Regions from separate parts of the Homo sapiens genome. Here region 1 is linked to region 2. The links are contacts of gene promoters, found by promoter capture Hi-C in blood cells and fetal thymus (Javierre and others, 2016). All regions are on one chromosome and are shown on one strand. Each heading gives the region's core, a stretch centred on a gene start or on the middle of the fragment in contact. The rest is flanking DNA. Distances are from core to core; before and after follow the strand shown.

Region 1 (5,488 bases), core at 202-2,701, 6.0 Mb before region 2:
TGGCACAGTATCTGATTAGGAACAGTTAACTGCACGAAGGTATGACACTCCCTATCTGCCTCGAGCTTACAGTGGATGTTTAATATGTTAAACAGGAAATGTTTGCAAAAAGTATTCATATTTTTCAGTCAATATATACTAAGGACATTTATTCATTTTTCTTTTGTTTACTCAACATTCATTTACTGCTTAACATGCCAAGTGCTAAGGATGTATAAGGCCACATGGTCCCTGCCCTTAAGGAATTCATAGTCTGATGGGGGAAAACAAAATTACTTAATCAGCATGTACGCAAGTACTCAAATATTTGCACAGTAGGTGTTCAAACTATATGCAGTAGGTCCACAGCTGATGAATGACACAGATGATCCTCCAATCAGTAGATGCCTGATGTATATGTACAAAGTACTGGTTTGATGATACTCATTCAAAGTACTGTAGTTGCAATGAACCTATTCAGAAACTGCTCAAGGAACATGCACACGATAGGACTAAATGTACATACAGTTGGTACCAAATGCACAGGGGCTATACACAATAAATACAATAAAAGTACACGGATGTTTGGTAAGTGCACTGTAGGCTCACAAATGGGCAAACAGGTGTTTTACACAGTTGACACTGGATAAATACGCCGTTGCTAAACATCCAATAGTTAAAGTATACATACACACAGGCTTATTTTGTAGGAGTATATGCCACAAATGTGTACATGGTAAAAGTGAATACAGAACAGTTGAAAGCGTTCATTAAAATGCTGACTCCCAGTGACTTTTGGGGGGTAAGAATCGAAACCCCATCTCTCTACCTGTAACCTTGGATGAAATAAAGATTTCCTTCCTTTACTTGGGACTCAGAATCCTAAAAATCCATAATCCCCGGGGAGTGAGCAGCTTCCTGCCTTCCTTATTTCAAAGCCCCAGAGGTGTCAGTGTCTAGAGCTGGAGCCTAGTACATCTCCCCCCATCCCGCGGGCCAGCATAAGGGGTCCTTTGCAATCAGGCTCCCAGAGCCGCCTTCCGCGGCCCATACCGTTAAGACCAGGGAGAAGGGACAGAGAACACTGGTGCGGGGCTAGCGACCTGGTTGAGGTCTGCGGGGGAGTGCCGGTTTGACTCCACCACCCACGGACACCAGCTCCTCTTCCGGTCTCCATAACGCGCATGCGCATCACTGGCCTTTAAACGTGCACCGCCGGTCCATCCGGAAAGACGATCCGGCAAACTAATTACAATCTTGTTCCTCCGCCGTTGCAATGAACTATTTTCTCTCAGTCCGGGGTGGTACTTTTGAGTAACCCCTTCCAAATAGAAACCCATACCAGCCTATTTAGCTCGGTCTCCACTATATGAAGGTTTCCTAGGGCTTGGTGTGACGCAACGTATACGAGGCTCGGAAGGACACCCCGCGGAAGGATCCGGTTTGTTGTGGTGTGGGGAGGGGAGACGCTGACAAACCAAGATGGCGGCGGCGGCGCTGAAGGCCGCGGCGTTTGGGAGGTAACTGTGGTGGCGAAGGCTGCGGTAGTGGGGAGGCAACCACACAGTTTGGAAGAAACGGAGCGGGACGAAGAGGCGGTAGCAGTAGAGTCAGCCTGAGACTCTCAGAGCACGACGGCCACACGCCCCCTTAGGCCCTCGGCGGGCGGCGGCTGCCCCGCTTAGGGCCTAGCCTCCGAGCATTGCCTCGGCTTCAAACAGCGGCGGCGCCATGAGTCCTTAAGGGCGGTCCAAGCCTCCCGATCCCTGGCCCAGACCTCGGGCCCACCATGGAGCCGGGGTCCGACGATTTCCTACCGCCACCGGAGTGCCCGGTGTTCGAGCCTAGCTGGGCCGAGTTCCGAGACCCTCTTGGCTACATCGCGAAAATCAGGCCCATCGCAGAGAAATCGGGCATTTGCAAGATCCGCCCACCCGCGGTAAGCCCCGGGGCCGGTTTTCGCCGGCGGCGAGACGGAATGAAGCAGTAGGATAGCCAGCGGCGAAGTCTGGGGCGGAGGGCAGCTCGAGGTGGGGAGAGGGGGTGGCTGGGACCGTTGTGGTTGCGGCGCGGATCGGAAAAAGGGTGTTGGGCCAGGGGTCCTCTCGTGGTGTGAGGCCCACAGGTGACCTGGAGTCAGAGATCCACCCCCACCCCGGCCCTTCAGAATCACTCCGGGTTTAAGACAGGGATTCCTAGTGGGCCGGAGGGAGTTCACAGAGAGGCACCCCGCACATCTCTTAGCCCGGGCCACCTAGGTCGAGGCTGTAAAAATAAGACGTTTCTCCAATCTGTTGTCATCACTTCCTTTAAGGCAGGCAGCATAGTATAGTATTAATAGAAAGATCGCAGTCCTGAAGGGAGACAGACTTGAGTTCAAAACTCCACTTTGAAGCTGAGCAGCTGTGTGACCTTGGGAAAGTAGAAGTAATCTCTCTGAGCCCGTGAAATGGATCCCAGAAATGGTTATTTAGAGGATTGAATTAAACTAGGTAGCGTCTGTATGTAGTACGCACTAGATAAGTGGTAATTATTGTGACTGTGAGGGTGTTTGATGTGGTCATTGGTTTATTCCTATGTAGGTTGACTCATATTTACTCATACCTTGCCAGGCCAATTCATCTATGATAATATCCTGGCCTGCTGGACCAGTCAGGAAATCAGTCTCACAGGGATTGCTCTGTCTCCCTTGAGGTGGGTTCAGGGAATTGTCCTCTTCTTTTCCTCGTTGAAGGCAATGTCAAGGCCTTTTCTGCACATCATCCCGCAGACTTGACTTCCTATGGAGATGTTTGGACCGGTCAGCTTGGTGGTGGGGTGTGAGTCCTTCTCAGAAGATTTCTACTCTCCTCTGGTCCAGGATGTAGGAGATCCCAGAGGATAGGGCACTCTTGGGCCCGCAGAACAGAATGGAGCCATGGAATTCTGTCCCTTTTGGAACATGATTGCCAGGGGTCAGCAACAAAGGCCATAGCTTTCCTCCTAGGCCTGGCTTCAGGCTAGAAGTCTCCCAAGGGCTAGGGCAAGCTGCTGCCTTGCTGATATGGTGGAAAAGTGATGATAATGTTCAGTGATCAGTTGGGATTCCAAGGGCAGAAATTGAGCTTTGCTGGAAAAGGGTGTTTTTGAGTGGGTGTCTCCTGGCTGAAATGGAATAGGAAGCTTCATTCCCACCTGAGGAGGGCACCACAGGCCTCCTTATCCAACTTGGTGCTTTCTGGTGCTCAGCCACAGATCTAGGATGGTTTCAGATAGATCCTCTAGGAGGTGTTGGGTAAGCGAATTTCTTCCTTCTTGGAGTCTGGCCACAGATTTCTGAGGTATCCTTGTCCATGGTGAGGGAGTGGCAGTGGGTAGAGGGTCAGGAAGGCTAGTGGAAGGGAGAGGCAGGAGTCCTGGGCAGCCTCAAGGAGGCACTCCCTGAAGTGGTTGGGCAAGCCTGTGGGAAAAAGAGGCATAGCTGACGTAGGGGGTAGTTGAGGCCTGAATTCCTTTTTTCTATCTTGGACTGACTTAGGCAGGCTGGCCTTGTGTAGGTGTTGTTACCCTGCTTTGGGGCATCAGGAAGGGGAAGAGTGACATGTCCCAGGTGTGCATGGCCAGCAGGAGGCCGTCCTTTTCACTGCTCAACAGTGTGCTTCTCTCTAATCCAGGATACCTGGCTCTCTGGTTTGGTTTTGTTTTTTCCTTCTCTATGGCAGCTCCTAGGCCACCTTTAGGCAGCTGGCCTTCTTCTGGTTGAAGTTTGAAGTACTCGCTCAAGTGATGCTTGGGCCCAGGGTGGGAACCTGTATATGGGTGGGTACCTGGGAATTGGAGGTTTGCTGGAGGAAGGATGGTTTGGGGCCTGAATTGCTGGGCAGGTGACTGCTACGCTTGGGAAAGATGGGTGGGAGGAGAGTGTGGGTACCCTGAGTAGACCCAGTGGAGTTTGGAAGGATCTTGCTTTCTTCATCAGGTAGCCAGCCTTTTTTTTATCACCACATCCCAGTAATACCAACATACATTTGGCATACAGTAGTCTGGAGATGAAGGCAGGCGGTTTGCAGGGCCTTCCCAGGTATCTGTTGCATCCATGGCTCCTGCCGTAGCATTCCAGGGCTGCCATTTCCTGTCAGGTGCTTGATGTTGCACTGATTGTCTAGAACTTGATTCAGCAGGAAAGAAGGGTGCCCGGAGTTTTGGGTTTGAGCACCTTTTTAGCTGGGTTACCTGTGCTGAGGGGAGTGCCCTATCCTGATGAGAGGCAAGAGGGCATGGGGAGCTTGTCTGGATTTGAGCCATACCATTTTGGCCTGCCTGTTTTTTTTTTTTTTTGTCCCTGCTTACTGAGCCCCAGATGTTTGCCACCTGCTTTGGCTGGTAGGGGCAGGGGAGTGTGGTCTGTGTATGCATGCAAAATATGAGTCCTCTAGCCCATTTTCTAAAAGTGTGTGTGCAGAAGAGGTCAACAGTTTTTCTTCTCTTTCACTGTCTCTCCCCCCCGCCCACGTGTATGCATGTATGTATGAACATTGATGTCTGGTGTAGTGCAAAGGCCTTGGATCAGAGGTCAGAAGACGTGGGTTCTTGGCCCCACCACTAACTCAGCATGTAATTTTGGAAATTTCACTTTTTTTCTCTGAGCCTCACTTTCCCCATTTATAAAATGAGAACATTGGTTTAGGTTACTTTAGGTTGATTTCACCACCCCAGCAGGAGCCAGGGCTCTGGGAAGGAGAGGTCTGCATAGGAGGTTGGAAAGGGGTGTTGGAGAGGGGGTTCTTCACAGCTGACCTTTGGGCAGGACACAGCAAGCTCCAACTTGGCAGAGCAGAGTGTCTCCCACTTTCATGATCTTTCCCTGACTTCCCTCCCCAAATCCTCCCATTCTTTGCCACCACAGTCAGGCATCCCAGCACTTACCCCCACCCCCTGGGGCTTCCTCCCCTGCCTCTTCCTGTACCAGGCAGGTGTATGAGAGAGGATCTACAGGAAGCCTTCCAGACTGGGTGAGTGATACACATACTTGCTCCCTGTTCCTTGCTCTTCCCTGCAGTGTCTATCTCAGGCCCTTTAAACTGAGAGAACAAACATTAAAGGCCCAAACCTTTACGTCCTGCCACAATCGGACCTGAGCTACCCTGCATGTGTATTGTGAGGTGTGGTCAGCCTTAGATGTCAGGTCATAACGGTGACTCCTTTGAATAACATTTTCATTTGAAAACTAGTTTTAATTTTCCATATTGGTCTGGCAAGGAAGCCAGGGCTAGAGTTCATATTCCCACCTCACAGATGAGAAAACAGGTTCAGAAAGCTAAAATCTCATAGCTAGTAAGTAGCGGATCTAGAACATGAACCCATATCTTCTGACTCTAGATCCTGTGTGCTTTCCAGTACTCCCAGGCCTGTGTGTCCTACAGCACGTGCCTAGGGGATAAGGAATTAATGTGGGTGTGGAGAAGGTTTAGGGTCAACAAAACAGAGGCTCCATCTCTTAATTTCTTGAAATCCTGGCACTGTACTGTTG
Region 2 (6,217 bases), core at 1,994-4,493:
GTCGAGGATGAGACTGGGGCTGGATTTGAGGAGAGAAATGGGTCATCTGCTACCTTGAAATCAGGTGCTTCCCCCAGCAGTTCTCGCCCCCACCTGGCTGAACTCACTATCCCCAGGAGGGGTAGGGGCCACCCTAGCAGAAAGACCTCAGATACAGGATGAGGTCCATCCATGGAGAACCCAGGATAACCACAAAACATCCTGACCTGGGAGGCTGAATACTGGGCCTAAGGCAAGGAAGGTAAAGCATGGCCAGCTCCCAAAGACAACCTTGTGTCCCCATATGGCACAGATACCCAGTTGCTTTGCATGTTGTGACAGGGAGTAGGGGAGGGGCTGGGGGAGACTGGAAGTAGGGCTGAATGGAGGATGGGGAGGAAGCCAGGAGGAGCCATGGGTCCACGACCTCTAACTGGAAACCCCAAGGGCTGGACATGCTCTGGAGTTCAGTTTTTTGGGATTTTAGGAAGATGGGGTGTAAAATCTGTATATCACATAACACTCCCAGAAAGGGGGATGGGGGTCTCAGACATGCCCCTGTGAACAGAGATAATTGAACATTTATACGCAAGGAAACTTTTAAATATCATTTCAGTTGAATGAGCTTTTTAGATTTCAAAAAAGGAGGGAGCAAGAAACTGGACATAAAACCTTACCCCAAAAAAGGCACATGTCCTGCCTGACCCTTCCTGATCCCCAAAGACATACACCCATCCTCAGACTACTCTCATACTCAAGGATACTCAACACACCAACCACTAAGGACTTGGTCATCGCACCCTATGTCCTGATCCCCATTAATACACGCTAGACCCTCAAGGAGGCCTCACTACATCTTACCTGCTATTATCTCATATACCCATCAGCATTCAAAGCCCTAACACATAACATACCGCCCTGAACTCTGTCAGCACACACTTAGCCTCCTCTAAGTAACTCTTGCCACCACATTCTTGGGCCCCTCCCTGGCCTAGCTGCTTGTTACCTTCTCCATAGTACTGACTCCCCTCATTAACGTACTGTTCCCCCTACATGATTCTGACCTCTATTAACATGCACTTGGGGTACTCTATAGCTGACCCACATTAGCACTCACTGGACCTTCTTCATGCTGCTCTGAATGCTATTAACATAAAGTGAACCTTACAGATAGATCTCTAACCAGTGTTACCCACACTCAGGCCCCTTCACAGCTACGACCATCCTTAACACACATTCCAGTCCTTCCACTGTCCTGTCCCCTCTGTCAGCACAAACTGAGTCTTCACTCAGGCCTGATTTCTATTAGCACACGCCGGGCCTCACACAGTCCTGCCTCCCCATTAGTGCACCCTGAACCCTTACTCAGCCCTATTCCGCAGGGACACACAAACACACTGTTCTACCATGGCCTGACCCTCATTAGTGCACACAGGTCTCATTCAGCCCTGACTCCCATTAGCACACACTTCAGCCCTCCCTAGCTGTAATCCACTTTAGCACACCGAGATCATCACACATTCCTGTCCTCTATTGCTCTCTGCTCAGAGATATCTCCACAGATATAATCCTTGTTGGTTCACACTTAGATCCCTTCATGAAAGCCCTGATCCCCCTTATTACACACTAGATCCCCTCCGCAGCCCTACCCCCGAGTAGCACCCCCTGGAACCTCAACATACTCTGGTCCTCCGCGGACACAAGGGCACAATCTTCACAAGGTTCTGATGCTTATTAGCATATTCCAGACTTCACACAGCTGACTCTCGAAATGGCACACATTGAAGTGCCTCTATGTCTCTAAACCCACATTAGCAACCACCAGTACTTCTATTACCCTGCTCCTTCCTAGTGTGCCCTCGAGACTCACATTCCCTGTGTCCATGGACACACTCACACCTCACATCACCTTTACCCTTCGTCCACTAAGCCTCTGACAGTGCTAAGACACTTCCCCACCACTCCTTCCTGGGCCCAGACAGACACGCAATTCTCATCTCCTTTAGGCCAGGCTCAGGTATTCCACAGTCCTTCCTCCGTTAGATACCCTCAGGTCCTTCCTCCACTCTGCCCTCATTAGCATATACTGGGTCCCAAACTACCTAGACCTTCGAGGCCACAGGCATACACCCTCTACAGCCATGACCCCCACTGGCGCACACACCACACTCGAGTCCTTCAGCTACCTGCCCTCCACAAGCACACACTGCATTCTCACACACTGCAGGCCCCACGGACAGACACGCAGTATTAACACCATCCAGGGCCTCATCGCCACGCACCAGGCCTCAGAGCCCTGACCCCACCAACACACGTTCTGGTACCTGTGCCACCCTGTCCCCCATGAACACACACCGGGCCTCTCTGCGGACATAATCCCTATGAGCATGTCTTAGAACTTCCTCGACACCCTACCCCCCGTTATACACCCTCGGGTCCCTCACCCGCTCCGCACCCCGCCCTCCTTCCACAAGCACACACGGGGCCTTGAACCTTACACGACTTATTGGCGTGAGGCTTACTGCCACATGCTCCGACCCCCATCAGCAACCCCCCCAAGTCTTTCACCCCATTGTCACCCATTTCCACACCCTTTGGTCCTTTGACTCCCCCAGGTCCCCATTAGCACCCACAGCACTACCCAACCCCAGCTCCCAGGACAGGCCCAGGGCGGGGCCAAGGTCAGGGAGGCCCCAAATGACCCCCCGCCCCGGTGCATTCTGGGAAATTCGCCGGGGGTGGGGGCACCTGCCAGCCCCGCAGCCCAGACCCCTGGGCACCGCCCGAGGTGGGTTCTGAAGGAGGAGGGGCAGCCTCCACGCCTCGGGGACGCGCTCACCGGCGGGGGCGCGCGAGCAACCTCAGAGCCGCGGGGCCGGCGCGGCGGCGCCTGGGGCGGCGGCCCGGGATGAGGCCGCGCGACCTCCTTCTCCTCCTGTTCGCCGCAGGCGCCCGTCCCAGTAGTCTTCAGCCATGGTTGCTGGGCCCGGGCCGCCGCCGGCTGAGGAGGAGGAGGCGGCGGCGGCGGCGGTGGCTGAGGCGGAGGCGGCGTCCCGCTCAGCCGGCCATGAGCTTGGCCGCTGCGGGCGATGCCCCCGGACTCGTTGGCGCCGGCTTGAATCCGAGTGCTCACGGCGGCTCGCGGCACAGAGCGGTCTGATCGCGGAGTGGCGGCGGATCCCAGGGCCGAACAGCCAACGGCCCAACCGCCGCGCGCGCCGCGCTCCGCGCATGCGCACGCAGGCGCTCGGAAGGGTGAAGTGGAAAGGAGGGGACTCACCTCGGACTGCATGTACCAAAGGACCCGTCCGCAGCGGGAGGGGACGCGGCCATCGCGAGCCCAGAGGAGGATGCGGCGCCAAGCCGGAGACGGCACCAGGGAGAACTGTGGAGGCTGTTTAGTACTCAGTTCCGATCTTGGCAGAAGTTTGCTAGCGCCTAGGTGAGCAGTGGCCAGTAACCTGGCGCGTCAATCACCACTCGTTCCCCCTACTCGGTCTCACTTGGTACATCCCCATGGTGGCAAACGGGACTTTTGCAAGGAGGAAAAAAGACAAATGAAGCACTCAGTTCTAGTCCCTTGAGGTGCTTGGGGAGGAAGGCATTTTAAAGGTTCGCGAGAAGATGACTTTTCGAGGAGAGGCAGCCTGAAGAGTTATTGGCCTTTACCACCTTAGCTAGGACGGCCTATCCCCGCCCAACTGCCCCCTCCACCGCTACCTCATTCCCGTAGTGAACGTGTGCAGCCCCGCCCTTTGAGGTTGTCGCCCAGCCAATCTGATTTGCTCTCTGTGGCGAGGCCGAGCAAGAATAAAGGGCGTGGCTGACTGAAGAGGCGTGATTTCGCTCTCTACCCGACTCCGCACGCCTCCGCCCAGGTTTCATAGGTTTTCACCGTCGGCGGGGGTGGGGTCTCCTTTTTGTTCTGAGCTCCTCCTTCGCTATAGGCCGAATATTCCGCAAGGTGATTGGTCATAATTGCGCTCAATCGAGTCTCGTCCCGCCTTTAGCCCGCCCTCCATCTCATACAGCGGGCCTCCCGGGGTGGAACCCAGGCTGAGAAAGAAGGAAAGAGGCGGATCCTTAGAGGCGCAGGAGCCGCTACTGCGCATGCTTGGAACTTCGAGCGGGGCGGAGCCTCTTTTCTGCCTCACACGAGTATTTGCATAGGCGCCGTGCGTTGGATTTTCCTGCCACCTCTCTTGCCCGGCACAGCCCCTCCCGTGCCTCCCCTCACTCTGAGGGTTTTTTGTTTTGTTTTGATGTCAGTCAACACAAGTAGAACACTCCGCGGTTTTATTTCCATTTTATTTATTGGGCGCATGTTGTGTGCCAAGTACTACCAGGCCGACCTAATCCTTCACTTCCTTCTGCCTGGAAAACCACACTATCCCCAAGTCCAGCTCAAAGGGCTGCAACCTCCAGCAGGCCTTCTGGCACATCCTTACACTACCCTGTTCCAAGGCAGCCTCCCCGCCTCTTCCGGGCTTCCCTTTATGGCAGCCTTGATCACAGCAGTTAGGATTTTCAGTAAGGTTTACATTAGTGAGATTTCCCGGGCCATGATGGGAGTGGAAATATTTGACAAAGATAAAAGTCCTCGCCTTGGCATAGAACAGGCTCATCACTTCTCTGACCTCATCTCTTCCTCTTCTTCCCCTGACTCACTGCCACCATACTAGCGCTCTTTCTAGCTGTTTGAGTGAAACGGGCACAATCCAGCCTCAGGGGTTTTGCATTTGCTGTGGTTCCCTTTGCCTGGAATGCTGCTGGCCCACATCCACGTGCCTCATTCTCTCACTTCTTCCAGGTGCTTGCTTCAAAGTCATCTCCATGAAGCCTTTCCGATTTAAAAATTCCTACCTGCACTGCCATCATTCCAGATCCCCAGATCGGGCTCTATTCCTCGCCTTTTGAAGAGCACTGATCAACTTCTAAGGTACAATTTGCTTACTGTGTTTATAATCTATTCTGGGTGTCAACCTAGCAGAACGTAAAACCCCAAGAGGACAGGGATCTTTGTTTTATCCACTGCTGTCTCACGTGCCTAGAAAGTGACTGGCACACAGCACACAACAAATGTTTGTTGAATGCCTGCCAGAGCAGGCCAAGAAAATAAAATGATCAGAAGGAGGTGGGCAAATAGTTCCAGGCAGTGACAAGAGAAACCTTTGTCCCACCCTATCCTTTGTGGCTGCTGGGTGCAGGGGGCTCGGTGCAATGACGCAACCCCCGCCTGCTAAGCCCTGATCTCCCATCTGGCTGGTGTTAACAATGGTAGACTGGTAGACAAACCGCAGAAGTAAAATGGAATGAGGTGGAGGGGGAACAACTAAGATGCAACCAGGATTCATGCATGACTCAAAAGCTTGTTTTGATGGAGAAGGGTGTCAGGCACGAATAAGGTGTCAAGGAGATCCAGGAGTTGTGGTGGGGAAGACATGGAGCCGTAATGGGGGAGGTGCAGTGAACAAGGTGTCTATAGAGTATCCGCAAAGGAGCTGGCATACTGGAGAAAGAAGACAACAGTTGTGTTCAAGCCTCAGCTGCTGTAGTGGTGTGGCCAGTGGACTGCGGTGTGGAGTGTCTAGGGTACTCTAGAGCAATAATGGGAAAGTTCCTGTGGTGGGAAAAACTTTCCCTTTGACAGTATCACCACTAGATACCAAAGGGAAAATGCCTCTGTCCTCAACGTCCTAGTGGGGAAGAAGAAACTGTGGAAGGATAAGGTCACCCAAGCAGAGCAGGCCAAGAAAATAAAATGATCAGAAGGAGGTGGACAAGGGCATATACTGTGCCCAGGACCAGGAACTACTGGCCCAGGAGGCAGCAGATGTGGGCACAGGCTGTGATGGGAATCAAGCCAGTTCAGAACAGGTTGAGCTATTCCTTACACTCAGGTTTGAGTAGAAGAGTGAGGGATCTTGTTTCTAAGTAAGGTAGATAAATTATTGGTTAGTTGAGGAACAGAAGTATGAATGGACTCCTCAGGCACCAGGAGCCAGTACAATAGAAGAAGGCAAAGATGTAGCAGTGGCCAGACTGGTGCTTTCAATTGTCTGGAGCACTCAGCCAAGACCAAGGACAGAGCACGGTAACTCTGCAGTCCCGGTGGGGCTGGTGTTAGGCCTCCTGCTACCTGCTCTAAGCGATGAACACCCCTCAGTCCCCACAGCCAGCTGTCTTCTCCAAAGTAGGAGGCTGAAGATCCTCAAGGGGAATACAGGCAGACCTGGGG

The links. Contacts are between HindIII fragments. The CHiCAGO score rates a contact against its expected background, and 5 or more counts as called.
Region 1: a contact is called between the fragment with the promoter of KDM5C here and the fragment with the promoter of CDK16 in region 2, in 1 of 17 cell types (neutrophils). The highest score is 5.5, in neutrophils.

Annotation. Positions count from the first base shown.
Region 1 is chrX:53,221,170-53,226,657 of GRCh38, reverse strand. KDM5C (lysine demethylase 5C) reads left to right here and starts at 1,451. Exons shown (of 26, transcript NM_004187.5): 1 at 1,451-1,918. The coding sequence starts at 1,769. It also overlaps a transcript of IQSEC2 not described here. RefSeq lists enhancers at 1,130-1,179, 1,057-1,351, 1,190-1,569, 1,810-1,909. The HindIII fragment of the contact is 15,929 bases long and covers 1-3,143 here.
Region 2 is chrX:47,215,707-47,221,923 of GRCh38, reverse strand. CDK16 (cyclin dependent kinase 16) reads right to left here and starts at 3,243. Exons shown (of 16, transcript NM_006201.5): 1 at 2,819-3,243. It overlaps LOC105373194 (a long non-coding RNA gene), which reads left to right and starts at 3,274. Exons shown (of 3, transcript XR_949047.4): 1 at 3,274-3,421; 2 at 4,790-4,918. RefSeq lists silencers at 2,730-2,799, 2,810-2,919, 2,940-3,099, 3,800-3,909 and enhancers at 2,517-3,156, 3,300-3,369, 3,490-3,609. The HindIII fragment of the contact is 18,663 bases long and covers 1-5,349 here.